Linked DNA regions of Homo sapiens: region 1 is linked to region 2. Evidence: promoter capture Hi-C in 16 types of primary human blood cells and fetal thymus (Javierre and others, 2016). All regions are on one chromosome and are shown on one strand. Each heading gives the region's core, a stretch centred on a gene start or on the middle of the fragment in contact. The rest is flanking DNA. Distances are from core to core; before and after follow the strand shown.

Evidence for each region. Contacts are between HindIII fragments. The CHiCAGO score rates a contact against its expected background, and 5 or more counts as called.
Region 1: a contact is called between the fragment with the promoter of SLC25A43 here and the fragment with the promoter of LONRF3 in region 2, in 7 of 17 cell types (activated CD4 T cells, monocytes, naive CD8 T cells and 4 more). The highest score is 7.4, in activated CD4 T cells.

What each region holds. Positions count from the first base shown.
Region 1 is chrX:119,397,231-119,403,554 of GRCh38, reverse strand. SLC25A43 (solute carrier family 25 member 43) reads right to left here and starts at 4,219. Exons shown (of 5, transcript NM_145305.3): 1 at 3,877-4,219. The coding sequence starts at 4,151. RefSeq lists a silencer at 3,696-4,355. The HindIII fragment of the contact is 2,295 bases long and covers 3,341-5,635 here.
Region 2 is chrX:118,969,104-118,975,892 of GRCh38, reverse strand. LONRF3 (LON peptidase N-terminal domain and ring finger 3) reads right to left here and starts at 1,275. Exons shown (of 11, transcript NM_001031855.3): 1 at 296-1,275. The coding sequence starts at 1,112. The HindIII fragment of the contact is 6,269 bases long and covers 1-5,228 here.

The DNA.
Region 1 (6,324 bases), core at 2,970-5,469, 420 kb before region 2:
GCACTTTGGAAGGCCAAGGCAGGTGGATCACGAGGTCAGGAATTCGAGACCAGCCTGGTCAACATAGTGAAACCCCGTCTCTACTGAAAATACAAAAATTAGCCAGGCATGGTGGCGTGCACCTGTAATCCCAGCTACTCGGAAGGCTGAGGCAGGAGAATCGCTTGAACCCGGGAGGTGGAGGTTGCAGTGAGCCGAGATTGCGTCACTGCACTCCAACTTGGGCGACAGAGCAATACTTCTTCCAAAAAAAAAAAAAGAAATTTTTGACTGGAGGGGCGGTCTGCAGCAAGCTGGAACCACCTAGAAGGTGGAGTTTGAAATGCCCAAAGAAATACCATTCATTCTCCTTGTCCCACTCTTATTCCCCATCCCACTTGGTCACTTCTAGGGCATAGTTAATTCACTACTCATTTATTGAAGGTCTACAATGTATCAGACCCTGTGTTAGTCCTCAGCATAGAGCCTAAGGGAGTTCAACACTTCTGACAAGGAAATGACTGGTAGGGGCAAGCGGAGAGGAAACAGGCCCTTAATTCACTGAATGACTTGATGAACTAGGAAGAGGAGCCGTATTTTATATCAGTTTCTTTTATAGAGTCTCAATATCAAATATACACAATTAAAAAGAAGAACCATAGGAAGTCCTTTTTTCGCAGACTTCTCCCATCTGATACAGAGATAAGTCCTATCAATTGTTCCCCTTAGAATCTCAGAGTCAGGGCAGGCAACCCTGATAATCCGCCAATGATGTCATCTCAGTCCATGCATCTTAAACTTTTGATTTGCTAGGGCGGCACTGTTCCCTTTTCTGTTCTTCCTCCCACCCCCACACATACATGCACAGAAGCTTTTTCCAGTGAGACTGGATACACTGGTGAATTGCAGCAACCCCTTCCTTTCAGCCAGCACAGATACAACACACACCCTGGATATGTGTAATTATAACTGCCAATACTTCAACCTAACAGGTTGGCAGCCAGTGCAGCCAAACATAAGCTCATGAAGTGCTTATTCAATAAAGAAATAGTGTTGGTTATGAACAATTTCAGAGCTGCAGGGACCCAAACTAACGTTTATTAGATAAGATAGACAAGCGGTTGTGAAGTTCCAGGGCGGGGGGGTCTTCTATTTGATACATCTGAAAGCCACCCATTACAATAACCTAGCTCCCAACAGACTACTGAGTGGACTCTTGATCGTCAATCCAACTAAGCAGATATTTCTGCTGTGCAATGGTAGACAGAGACCTGAACTAAGGAGCCAGAAGACTTGGCTTCAAGTTCCAGCTCTTCCATTAATTGCATTTGTGGACAAGTCACTTAACTACCCCATTCCCTGAACATTCTGGATGTTTATGTTTTGTTCAAACCCATGATCACAGGCCCCCAGCCAACTGTTTTGCAAATTCATGGTCAGAAAAGAGTAGAAATGAATCAGTATAATGATGAATCAAGAGTATCATGTTGATGTAGGAAGGATGGCATCGCGATTAATCAAACACTTTGCTTTCCAACTATGCCTTGCCATTCACCAAAATACTTCCTTTTAGTTTTCAGAAAGAAAATAATCCTGTAGGGGAAAAAAAATTCCTAGCAAACCTAGCCCAGGTAAGTCTCTGTTCTCGTTCTCCCAGACATCTCCTCCTCTCTGCTCCCATGGTCACCTATTGCCGGTGCCCTCAGCTGCTATGTGGACTAGTGCAACAGGTTCCTAACTGGCCCTGCTGTCTCCACTCTTCCTCCTCTCTAGTCATCTTACTCTGCCACGATGTGACGATCATTTCCATTGAATTGCTTTAATCACAACACACCTCCCCCCACCCCCCACAAAAACCTCCCACAGCTACCCTTGGATACCAAGTCAAGTCCAAATCCCTTAATCCAACCCTCTAATATCTCATTCCAACCTGCTTTTCTGGTTGGACTTCCTGTTGTGCTGCTTGCCTTCCCACCTCTGTGCATTTGCTGACATCAACTGCAGTATCTTTCTCTCCATCTCTGCCCAGCAGACTCCTCATTCTCCCAATGCCAAACTCAAATTTTTTTCTCCTCTATGAAGTCTTCACATTTTCTCCTCCTCATCGCTCATCAGAAGGGTACATTTCTAGAGCACATTATCCATGACAATCACATGCTACCTTGTGTGTTATGGTCATGGACATATTAGTCTTACTCTTCTATTACTCTGTAAGCTCCTGGGGCACAGGGACCATGCCCCTTCCATCCTGGCATTGTCCTCAGCATCGTGCACACAGTGGGGACTTAATGTAGCCTGACTAAATTAGTGTCAAATGGATGCAGGGAGGCAGCATGATGTAACAGAAAGACTATGAGATTTGGAGTCAGAAGGCCAGGTAGTGGAGCTCAGCTCGGTCACTGACAAGAGGTGTCATCACTCTGAGCCCAATTCTGCATCTGTAAAACAGGCACAATGCTTCCTGTCCTATGGACCTTACAGGGCAGGAGGCAGGAGCTTAAAAAATCTAATGTGCATATACTAGGTGCTTAGCAGAAGAGCCACAATACTTAAACCAGCCTTTGAAGTTCTGCCCCCCACCCCTCTGGACATATTTTATCCCATCCAAAGGAAGATTTCCACACTACTTTGTAGAGAAGAGGGTGAAGTGGGGGAGAAACTGAGTCATTAAGACTCAGAGGAGAACTGTTTACAGACTGCAGGCCAGATGTTGATGAGGGCAAGCAGAGGTGGGGAGGAAAAAGGGCCTTAACTAAATGTCATGGTCCCACCCATGAGTCCCTCTGCAGAGGAAGAGAAGGGAACTCTATTTCCAGGCAGAGGCAAAATGAGTACTGGCCTAGAGGCCTAGGTAATAAGGATGATTCCGTTCGGCTTGTCGGCTGCCAGGTGAGCCTTCCACCTCTGGCCTCCCAGGTGAGTGACAGTGTCAAGGCAAAATCCTTTGACTATTAGCCGCCAAGACTAAACTATGCGGTCAAGACCGACTCTCCCAAATGTGGGCTGTTTGTCTAATTCAGAGCCAAGGCGATATCAAAGATGCCACTGTGCCCACTGAATGAGGAACACAGGGACCGTCCCCCCAATACAGAAACATCTCTGCTTCCTGAAATGCCATCACTACCAATTCATTCTTTCAGGCTTGGTTTCCAGTTCAAATGCAGGTACCTCTGAGCTCGGTGGAAGCTTTAAGGCTGCATTTACACCTTTAGATCTTTTCCTAAGGAGCAGCTGTTGATGTGGGAGAAGGTGGAAAAGGCCCAAATAAATGAGGCCAGTGGGGTGAAGCGGTAGGCTGAGGGGGCCGTTCTCAGCTTGGGGAGGGGAAGCTGCAGCCTCTGTCGGAGCCTGAAGTCAAGCTTCATTTAAGTTGGGGAGATGTGTGGGCAAAAATCTGCGGCCTTTTCGTATCGATGGATCGGGTCCTTTCCCCACACCAAGCACTTTCTTCTCGGGGCTTGGGTCACACAGACAAAAACACCTTTAAAAGGGTCTCTCTCTTCCTAAGCCAGCCTAAGCAAAAGTTTCCAAATTGGAGGACGGTGGAAATGGTTAGGACTCATCTCTCTGGAGAGCTTTTCATTCCTTTCCTCCAAATCCTTTGCTGCATTCCACCTCCTCGCCCGGTCCAATCCGGAAAGCCTCTCGGACCAGGGCTGCGGACCACAAAACTGCATCTTGCAGGGCGGTAACCCCAAGAGAACGTGAAAAGCATTGGGGCTGCACTCTGGGGGCCATAGAGGTGGCCCACCGCCCCGAGGGGTCCCCAGGTGATCGACAAGGGGGCCGTCCCTACTCCAGGGCCCCGAGTCCAGGCAGCAGGGCGGCGTCGGGCCGCGGCTCCCCCACCCCACCCCCGTCCGGTCTCCCGGTTCCCCGGCCCCGCCCGGCTCTTACTTGCGGTAGGCGGCGAGCTGCACGGCGCTGCAGGGGAAGAGGCGCAGGCACGCCACCGCGTTCCCCTTCCACAGGGCCCGGAGCCCCTCTGCCCGCCACACCCGGTGCCCTGTGGCCCACGGTCCCCGGGCGTGGCCTCGCACGACGCCAACCTGGGCCAGCACGGTGGCGAGCTCCAGGGGCGCGGTGAGGCTGAGGCTGAGCGTCCCCGCCAGCCCAGCGCACAGCAGCCTTTGGCCGCCTGTCAGTCGGCCGTCCCGCCTCCACGTAGCCATCGAGCCCCGACCCGGGCCCGGAAGACCGCGTGGCTCGGGCCTGGGGCTCTCCGGCCACGGGCGGAGGTGGCGGGCCCCAGGCCCCGCCCGGCATGGGGCGGGCCCGCGTGAGGGACGGGAAGCCCCGTCTACGCCCTAGCCTGGCCCGAGGCTGGTCGGGGGTGGGGCGCGAGGGCCTGGAGGGTCCGGGGTCCGAGGCCGCGGATATCATGGGCATAGTCTCCCCAGTTGGCAAGGCTCGAGTAGCGACTTTCAGTTGCGAAACAGTTACTGTTCTCTCAAGGCCCAGCCTGCTAGACATCTTGCTTCCTAAATGTTCAGTGCGCCCCCGCCGCCCCTCCCTGCCTCTCCTCTGGTTTGCCCCTTTTCTCCCTTTCACGTGCCACTTCTCTGTCTTCCTCCCCTGGCGCTTCCCTCCTCCTCCTCTTGCCTCCAACCCATTTTTTTTTCCTGCCTAACCAAAAAGCCTTGATGGTTTCCCAGTGCAGAAGGTAAAAAATTCTAACAACCACAGTTGCTATCTCTCAGGCACTTGTCAAGTACTGGGCTTTACAGACGTTCTCATGTAATCCTCAAAACGGCCCTAAGTACGTATGTCCTCATTGACAGAGGCTGTGTGGGTGTGGGGACTTGAATCTGGACTCTTGAACCTGTGTAAGATTCTTGGCTCTGCAGCTTACCAGCTGTGGGACCTTGGGGAAGTCACTCAACCTCTCTGTGTGTCAGTTGCTTTATAAAACAGAGATTATAATTTTTTCCTCCTAGGGGTTGTTGTAAGGATTAATGAACAATGACTGGTATGGGTAAGCAGTTTATATGTGTTAGTTCTGATTAGGTATTCATTTACAGGAGAGGAAACCAAGACACAGAGAGGACTTGCTCAGGCTCACACAGCTACCTACAAAGCAGAGACCGGTTTGAAATCTAGGGCGGTTTATGTCAGTTTCCACTAACGGCTACACTATATGTCTACTAGGACTGCAGAGTTAACTCCAGTAGGGACATTTTCAGTGGTTCTGTAAGCTAAGAGAACAATAGAGGCAAAGAATGGCTAAGAGAGGCTTGGCCAGAATCCGAGGATTCTTTAATCAGTTCAAAAATTTCAGAATTTCAGAATTTCTTTCTGTCTCTTTTTTTTCTAAAAAAGCCATGTCACTAATAATTACAAGGAAAGGAACTGTCAGCAGTCTGTTGGTGTGAGCAAGATGTTCCGGGTACATAGTTGTTTTTAGGCTTGTATAGTTATTTACATTTACTAACACACAATGCTATAGGAACGTTTTCTAAAAGGCATTGCAGGGTTTCTCCTTTTTTATTTTTCACTGTCAATCTCACTTGAGTATGACATTACAAGGTTTTGACTGTGAGAACTTGTTCTAGTTGCAGAAGCCATACTCTGCTCTCAACAATTGGGGAATGCTTATTTTCATGTTTTGTGAATTCTTCTGTCTTGTTGTAAGCTAATTTGATGGCTGGGGGAAGCTTGAGAAAGATGTATGACTCTGAAGACCGGAGGACCCCGACTTTAAAAGGGCTTGAATTGGAATTTGGGGATTACAATAAGGAAACCTTCGGGTACTGGTACTTCCTAAAGCCCTTTGTTGGATAACGGGACAAGATTCTAAAGCTCTTTCAGGAAGTTCGTGGGTCTGGAACATTTCATGTGATAACCCCATTGTATGGAGATTGGGTCAGCCAAGTTATGTTTTTTTTTTTTTTGAGACAGAGTCTCGCTCTGTCGCCCAGGGTGAAGTGCAGTGGCATGGTCTTGGCTCACTGTAACCTCTGCCTCCTAGGTTCAAGCGATTCTCCTGCCTCAGCCTCCTAAGTAGCTGGGACTACAGGCATGTGCCACCATACCCAACTAATTTTTTTGTATTTTCAGTAGAGATGGGGTTCGCCATGTTGGCCAGGCTGGTCTCGAATTCCTGACCTCAGATGATCCACCTGCCTCGGCCTCCCAAAGTGCCGAAATTACAGGCATGAGCCACCGCGCCTGGCCTATTTTAACCTTGAAAGTAAAATGTATGGCCGGGCGCGGTGGCTCACGCCTATAATCCCAGCACTTTGGGAGGCTGAGGCGGGCGGATCACGAGGTCAGGAGATCGAGACCATCCTGGCTAACACGGTGAAACCCCGTCTCTACTGAAAATACAAAAAATTAGCCGGGCGA
Region 2 (6,789 bases), core at 26-2,525:
CAGACAGGAACGGGGACTGAGAGACAGGAACACAAAAGCTAACAGAAGTAGCAGGAAAAGACAAAAAGCAACCGAGATCAACACAAACACAGTGAAACACAGATAAGCAGTGAAAACAGAACAAACTCAGAGACCCAGCCCCAGAATCACCCCTCCCCCACCCCGCCACAGTCCATGGGTCCCCCGCCCCCTCTTCTGCCCTGGTCCAAATCCCTTCTCGCTGCGGGGTTTGTTCTCCCGCTCCCTCATGTAGCCACCGAGCCCCAGCCCCGGCCCGGCAGCGCGTTGGACTCACCCAACTTAACTGCCTCGTTGTACTTGAGCAGTGCCGCCTCCACCTGGCGCTCGCGGTACAGTCGGTTGCCCTCGTGCCGGAGTTGCGACGCTCGCGCTGGGCCTGGAAACAACTTGCCGAGGAGGCCGCTGAGCACCACGTTGACTCGCAGCGGCGGCGGCGGCTGCTGCCCAGCCCGCCGGGCTCCACGCGCCCGCCCAGTGGCCACCATCAAGGCGGAGAGCTTGACCCCGCACAGCGCACAGCGCCGGTCGGCGGCCCGCCCACGTTCCAGGCACAGTTTACAAAAGGTGTGGCCACACGACAAGGACACGGGGTCTGATAGAAACCCATGACATTTCCGGCACTTAAAGCCGTCCCACACCTCGGTGGCCGCCGCAGCCGCGGCGGCCCCCGTCTCTTCCGCCGCCACGGTGCCGCTTGCAGTGCTACCCTCGTCCGGGGGCGCCGGCGCCAGCGCCTCGCCTTGCGGGACTTTCTCCGCCAGGCAGCGCACCAGCTGCTCCAGCTGCTCAGCCACCAGCTGCTGCCGCTCGGAGAGCTGTCTATACACCTCGAGGGCTTCACGGATTCGCCCCCGGGACGCCAAGGCGTCTGCCTGCGTGAGCAGGACTTTGCTCTCCGGCGTTGAGGTCCCCGGAGACTGCTCTTGCTCTGGCTCCCGCGTCGGTAGAGGTGCGGGGCCCTCTGCAGCCACCTTTGGGTGGGGGCCCATGTCTACTTGGGCCGCTGATGCCCCTCGCTCCGCCGACTCCAAGTTGTCGCTGCTGACCTCAGCGGGCAAGCTCAGCATCTGTTCGATCCGTACTGACTCCATGGGAAGAGGGACACGGGAGGAGACGAGGCGTCTAGGGACCGGGGACACGAAGCAAGGAGTGGCAGCTGGAGGAAATCGGGGCAGCCACCGCCGCCATGCCACCGAGCTCCTGACCCTGCCGCGCCTCCGGGAGCTCCATGCCGGCCGCCCCGCGCCGCCTAATAACTGTCTTGTCTCAGCAAAGTGTTATATAAAACGGTACCACGTGACGTGCCGCCACGCTGTTCATTGGCCGGCGGCGGGGAAATTGTTACAAAACCAGACAGTTTTGTAACAGTGTTGCTCTTGCTTCTTTGGGCTTCGCTTTTCTTGGCTTCTTTTTGAGGTTGTTTGTGTTTACACTTCGCCTTATTCCTCCTCACCACCTGGTTCTTTTTCGGAAGTGGGGTTGTGGGGTGGGGAGAAACTCAGTGTCTTCTCTTGGGCTTCTCAGTCTCCAAACCCCACTCCATCCCACCTCCAAACGGGCCAGCAAACAGGTCCCCTCTGCCAGCCGCTGACCAGCGGCCCCCCACTCCTCCCAGGAGAGGCTGGTACCTCGAGGTGCACAGTCCGCAGGGTCTTCCGGGACGCCTAAGACTCTCCCTCTTGGGGGAGATGGCTGCTGTCAGGGAAAGGAAGCAGGTTGGGAGGGGTATCCGTGAAGCCCCCCCACACACACACAACCCAGTCCCAGCCCGAGAGCCCTGGGAGCCCCGCCTGGGTTCCTTGCCTTCTCCCAGGAGCCTCCCAAAGGTGGTGAATTCGGTTTCTGAGGGTGCTTGGTGTTCTGTGCCAAGAGTGACTCAGAGCAGCGGGTCCCACCGGCGCAGAAGTTGGGCAGCGCTCGCTGGACAGTGAGGAACTCGCGGAGAAGATGCGCTTGCCGGCTCAGCCCTGGGAGGGAGATGCCCCGCTAACTCCCCTCTTTACCTCTCTACCCCCAACGCCAGAACTAGCGCTGGGGCAGGCGGTAGGCGCCCAGCTGGAGACACACCAGGCCGGCCCCTGGAGCCACTGGCCGGATGGGCGCGGCAGGGATGTACCCGGCCTGCTGGGGTCGGTGGGTACTCTGGGGGCGTGGGAGAGTGGCAGGGGGAAGACGCGAGCTGAGAGCGCTATTCAGGAGAAAGTCCGCGAATCCCGGCACAGCCCAGTGGCAGACCGAATAGCCTCCAGGTTTGTCGCTCCTGAGCGCTGCGCGGGAAGGGTACAACTGGGCACGAGCCTCAGCGCCTGGTTTACAATGGCTAGGGGGCCTCGACGGTGTCCTACACACTTCCTGAAGGCGAGCGGGGTGGCCAACTGCACACTCTTTGTCTGCCTTGAACCCCCACATTTAGGACGGGAACCAAGCTCACAAATGAGCAGACAGAAAACGGTATAGTCGCACTGCTCCAAGCAGGGAGGCAGGGACTAGGCTTGCCGCTGGCTCAGTTGGCCTTCAGAGCCTGCGGGCTCTTGGGCAGTGCCAGGTTGCCGCCCCAGGGGCCTGAAGACCTATTGTTGCCCCCTGCTGCAGCCACCTCTTAGCCAGATGACCTTGGGGAAGTCAAACTTTAGAATCCATCATTTTTGCTTCTGAACAAATGTTAGAGCTGATCTTACTTGGGATTAAGTCATGTTTCAGAGTTGGGTTATGGCAGGCCCCCTCGGGTCTCTGCTTCTCTTTAGGTAGTTAAACCAGTCTTAGATCAACACCAAGGTCCCAGAGAACAGGTACTATGCAGCCAGCTCTAGAGCCTCTTTCTAATAAGACAGGACAGAGGGAGAGGGTCACAGGGCAGAAAGGAAGCATCACATAGGGGAAAAAAGACACACACACGAAAAAAAAAAAAAATGAAGAAGAAGGAGAAGGAGAAGAAGAAATAGAGAAACTCCAGATGTAGTCAGGAAAGCACGAGGGACACATTGGAAAACTTGGCTTGAAGCCTTGGATTTGTCACATATTTGCTATGAAACCTTAGGTAGGTTCTCCAAACCTTAGTTTCTCTTAATCTCCAAGGTTCCCTCCAGCTCTAACCTTGAGTGGCTTTGATCCTAAGACCAAATTTCATGATACTAACTCAGTTACTTAAGTACAAATGACTAGTCCAAATGCTGTGGATGGTGGCTTGAACCGGGGTTGAGGGGATGGGAAATCAATGGAAGATTGTCCATTTAGTCGGGGTCAGACCTGAGCTAGATTTTTTTTTTTTTTTTGAGATGGAGTTTGGCTATTGTTGCCCAGGCTGGAGTGCAATGGAACGATCTCAGCTCACCACAACCTCCGCCTCCCAGGTTCAAGTGATTCTCCTGCCTCAGCCTCCCAAGTAGCTGGGATTACAGGCACGTGCCACCACAGCTGGCTAATTTTTTTGTATTTTTAGTAGAGACGGGGTTTCTCCATGTTGGTCAGGCTGGTCTCGAACTCCTGACCTCAGGTGATCCGCCCGCCTCAGCCTCCCAAAGTGCTGGAATTACAGGTGTGAGCCACCGCGCCTGGCCCCTGAGCTAGATTTTTAAGATGTAGAAGTCGGAGGACTGGCTAAGAGGTGGAGGAGGTGGCCATACCAAGCAGTAGGGGAGAAACTGGAGTTCCTGGTGAGTTGCTATCTAACTGAAGGGAGCTCTTTTCACCTCTCAGTTTCCCCTACTATCAAATGAGGTCCCCAGCACTAATTATCTGCCTGCCCCTTCAGGCATCTGTGAGGAAGGACAGTCGTTGGGGAAGGTAGAGATTCATGAGATAGATAATGATGAAACCATCTTAATTCAAGAGCTTTACCCCTTTGACATATCTAAAATATATATATATATGTCTGTTACCCAAAATTGTTTCCTAGATGCAAATCTGGGATGTGCTTTGCTCCGTGGATGACCTTGACAAGGGAATATCCCCTGGGTTGATTCCCCTCCCTTGCCCTGTTATGGTAGGAAGGCTAAGAGAGGGCCAGGTCAGGTAGAGAGTCACAGTCCTGCAGGCATGGAGAAGAGAAGCTCTCTCCAGGCAGGCCCTCTTGGCTGCCAGTGCAGGAGGTTGACCGTGAACTTGGTCAGGAATGTGAATAGCAGTCTGGATAATGCGAGGTACTCTGGTGTAAATGGCAGTACCAGCTACTCACTGACCAGACTCCACAGGGAGTTTTACATTGTAATCAAGACTGCCTGTAGGACAACACCAAGTGGGTTTCTATTGAATGCTGAAAAACATTATCACAGTGGTTTTCTTTCTTTGTTTGTTTAAGTTAAACAAATATTACCATTACATTGATAGACATTGTTGAACCAATTCAGAAGTCTCCTACTCAGAATTTCCTTCCCTCTGCTCTTACTAATTGGAGCCCCCCTGGAATGAGGGGAAGGGGGAGATTAACACCATCTTTTTCAGGTGCAAATATTCCCTTTGGAGTGTAAGGTTCTTTAAACCTCCATTTATTTTGCTAGGATCACCTTGTGGCTAAGGTTAACCAAGAAGAGAGAGCAAGGATTGAGCTGCCCCTCATTTTCAACTAGTAGTTTTCCAACTGGACTCTCAAGAATCTCTTTGGGGCTCAGAGGAGACAAGCAGACAGGCTTTGACCCTAGCTCCCCTCAAGCAGGGCAGTATTGTATCCATCTGTTTCACATAACTGAGCCTCCAGGTATGATTTCTTTGAAGAAAAGCTGTCCCTTACAATATCAAGTTTGAAAACCATAGCAATTTTCACACATTTTCATATATTTGTTGGGCATCTTCCACATACCAAGGACTGTTCTAGATACTGGAGACACATCAAAGCAGCAGCCGGGTGTGATGGCTCATGCCTGTAATCCCAGCACCTAGGGAGGCTGAGGTGGGTTGATCACGGCGAAACCCCGTCTCTACTAAAAATACAAAAAAAAAAAAAAAATAGCAGGGCATCATGGTGCACGCCTGTAATCCCAGCTACTTGGAAGTCTGAGGCAGGAGAACGGTTTGAAGCCAGGAAGCAGAGGTTGCAGTGAGCCAAGATCACGCCACTGCACTCCAGTCTGGGCGACAGAGTGAGAGACTCTGTCAAAAAAAAAAAAAAAAAAAAGCAGCACATAACTCCCAGGCTCTCCCTCACTTATGATAGTGCATCTTTCCCCACATACACACATCCTTGTACTGGCTTCCCATGTAGGCTAGAAGCTTCAGAGGGCAAGGACTGGTGTCTTATATCTCCTCCAGTGACATAAGCAGGACAGTGCTTGAACAGATCTTACTGAACATGCCAGTGGACATTCTGGCCCTAGGAGTGTGCAGAGGGACAAGAGGAAACAGTTGGAATGCCATGCACTGTGGTCATTCACAAAGCAGAGACTGGGCACACAAACAACAAATGGTTGACAGTCCTGTACTTGGAAAGGCCTGCTGAGCAACTCTGGGACGAAAGAGTCCATTCGAAGCCAGAGACCTGTAGTAAGGTGTAAGCAACCCCGCACACACATACACATGCACACACTCTATGCCTGGAAGCTTGGCCAAAGCACACATTTGTTCTGTATCTGATATTCTCATTTTATAAACTGGGGTGACCCATAAATCTGCAGTCCTTACAGGGGGAAAAAAAGGAACCATGGACATTAATGGTATTGATATGGAAAGCAAGACCGCTCCTTGCTATACAGAGTAGCCAAAACCCACAACTAAAAGAAAGTTTAGCCGGGCATGGTGGCTCACGCCTGTAATCCCAGAACTTTGGGAGGCCGAGGTGGGTGGATCACTTGAGGCCAGGAGTTCAGGACCAACCTGACCAACATGGTGAACCCCCATCTCTACTAAGAATTAAAAAAATAAATTAGCGGGAGTGGTGGCGCGTGCCTGTAATCCCAGCTACTGAGGAGTCTCAGGCAGGAGAATTGCTTGAACCCAGGAAGTGGAGGTTACAGTGAGCCAAGATCGCACCATTGCACTCCAGCCTGGGCGACAAAGCAAGACTCTGTTTCAAAAAAAAAAAAAAAAAAAAAAAAAGGAAAGAAAAGGAAGGAAGGAAGGAAGGAAAGTTAGCTTACACATCAGCTCTGGTTTCACAAATGAGGCCACTGAACACTAGAGAAGGCAAGTGACTTGCCACAGGTCATAATGAATTTGATACAGCCAAATTGGAAGCTAGGGCTCATATCTCTTTGTTTATAAAATTTTTTTTTTCATATGATCAGAAAGCTAAAGAGCACAGAACATCTCCTTCTTTTTTTTTTTTTTTGAGACAGAGTTTCGCTCCTGTTGCTCAGGCTGGAGTGCAATGTCGTGATCTTGGCTCACTGCAAACTGCGCCTACTGGATTCAAGTGATTCTCCTGCCTCAGCCTCCTGAGTAGCTGGGATTACAAGCATGTGCCACCGCGCCCAGCTGATTTTGTATTATTTTAGTAGAGACAAGATTTCTCCATGCTGGTCAGGCTGGTTTCGAACTCCCGTATCTCCTTCTTATTACTTATTGTAAGAAATTATTTCAGATTTCCCACCTACAAGATTTTCATCAGTTCAGCAAATATTTATCGAGCATATACTATGTGCTAATGGAGTTGGCATTTGTAGGGCAATAATAGGATGTGACACAGTCCTTATCCTCTAGTAGCTAACTGAGGAAACAAGAGACAAAGATTTAAAAAATAACAGGCAGTCTGTAAGAAGTGCCAAAATTAAGGGAACAGTGTGTCCACGGAAGCCCTCAAAGGGGACAGACTGCAATGCAGTCTCATGGAAAAGGTGC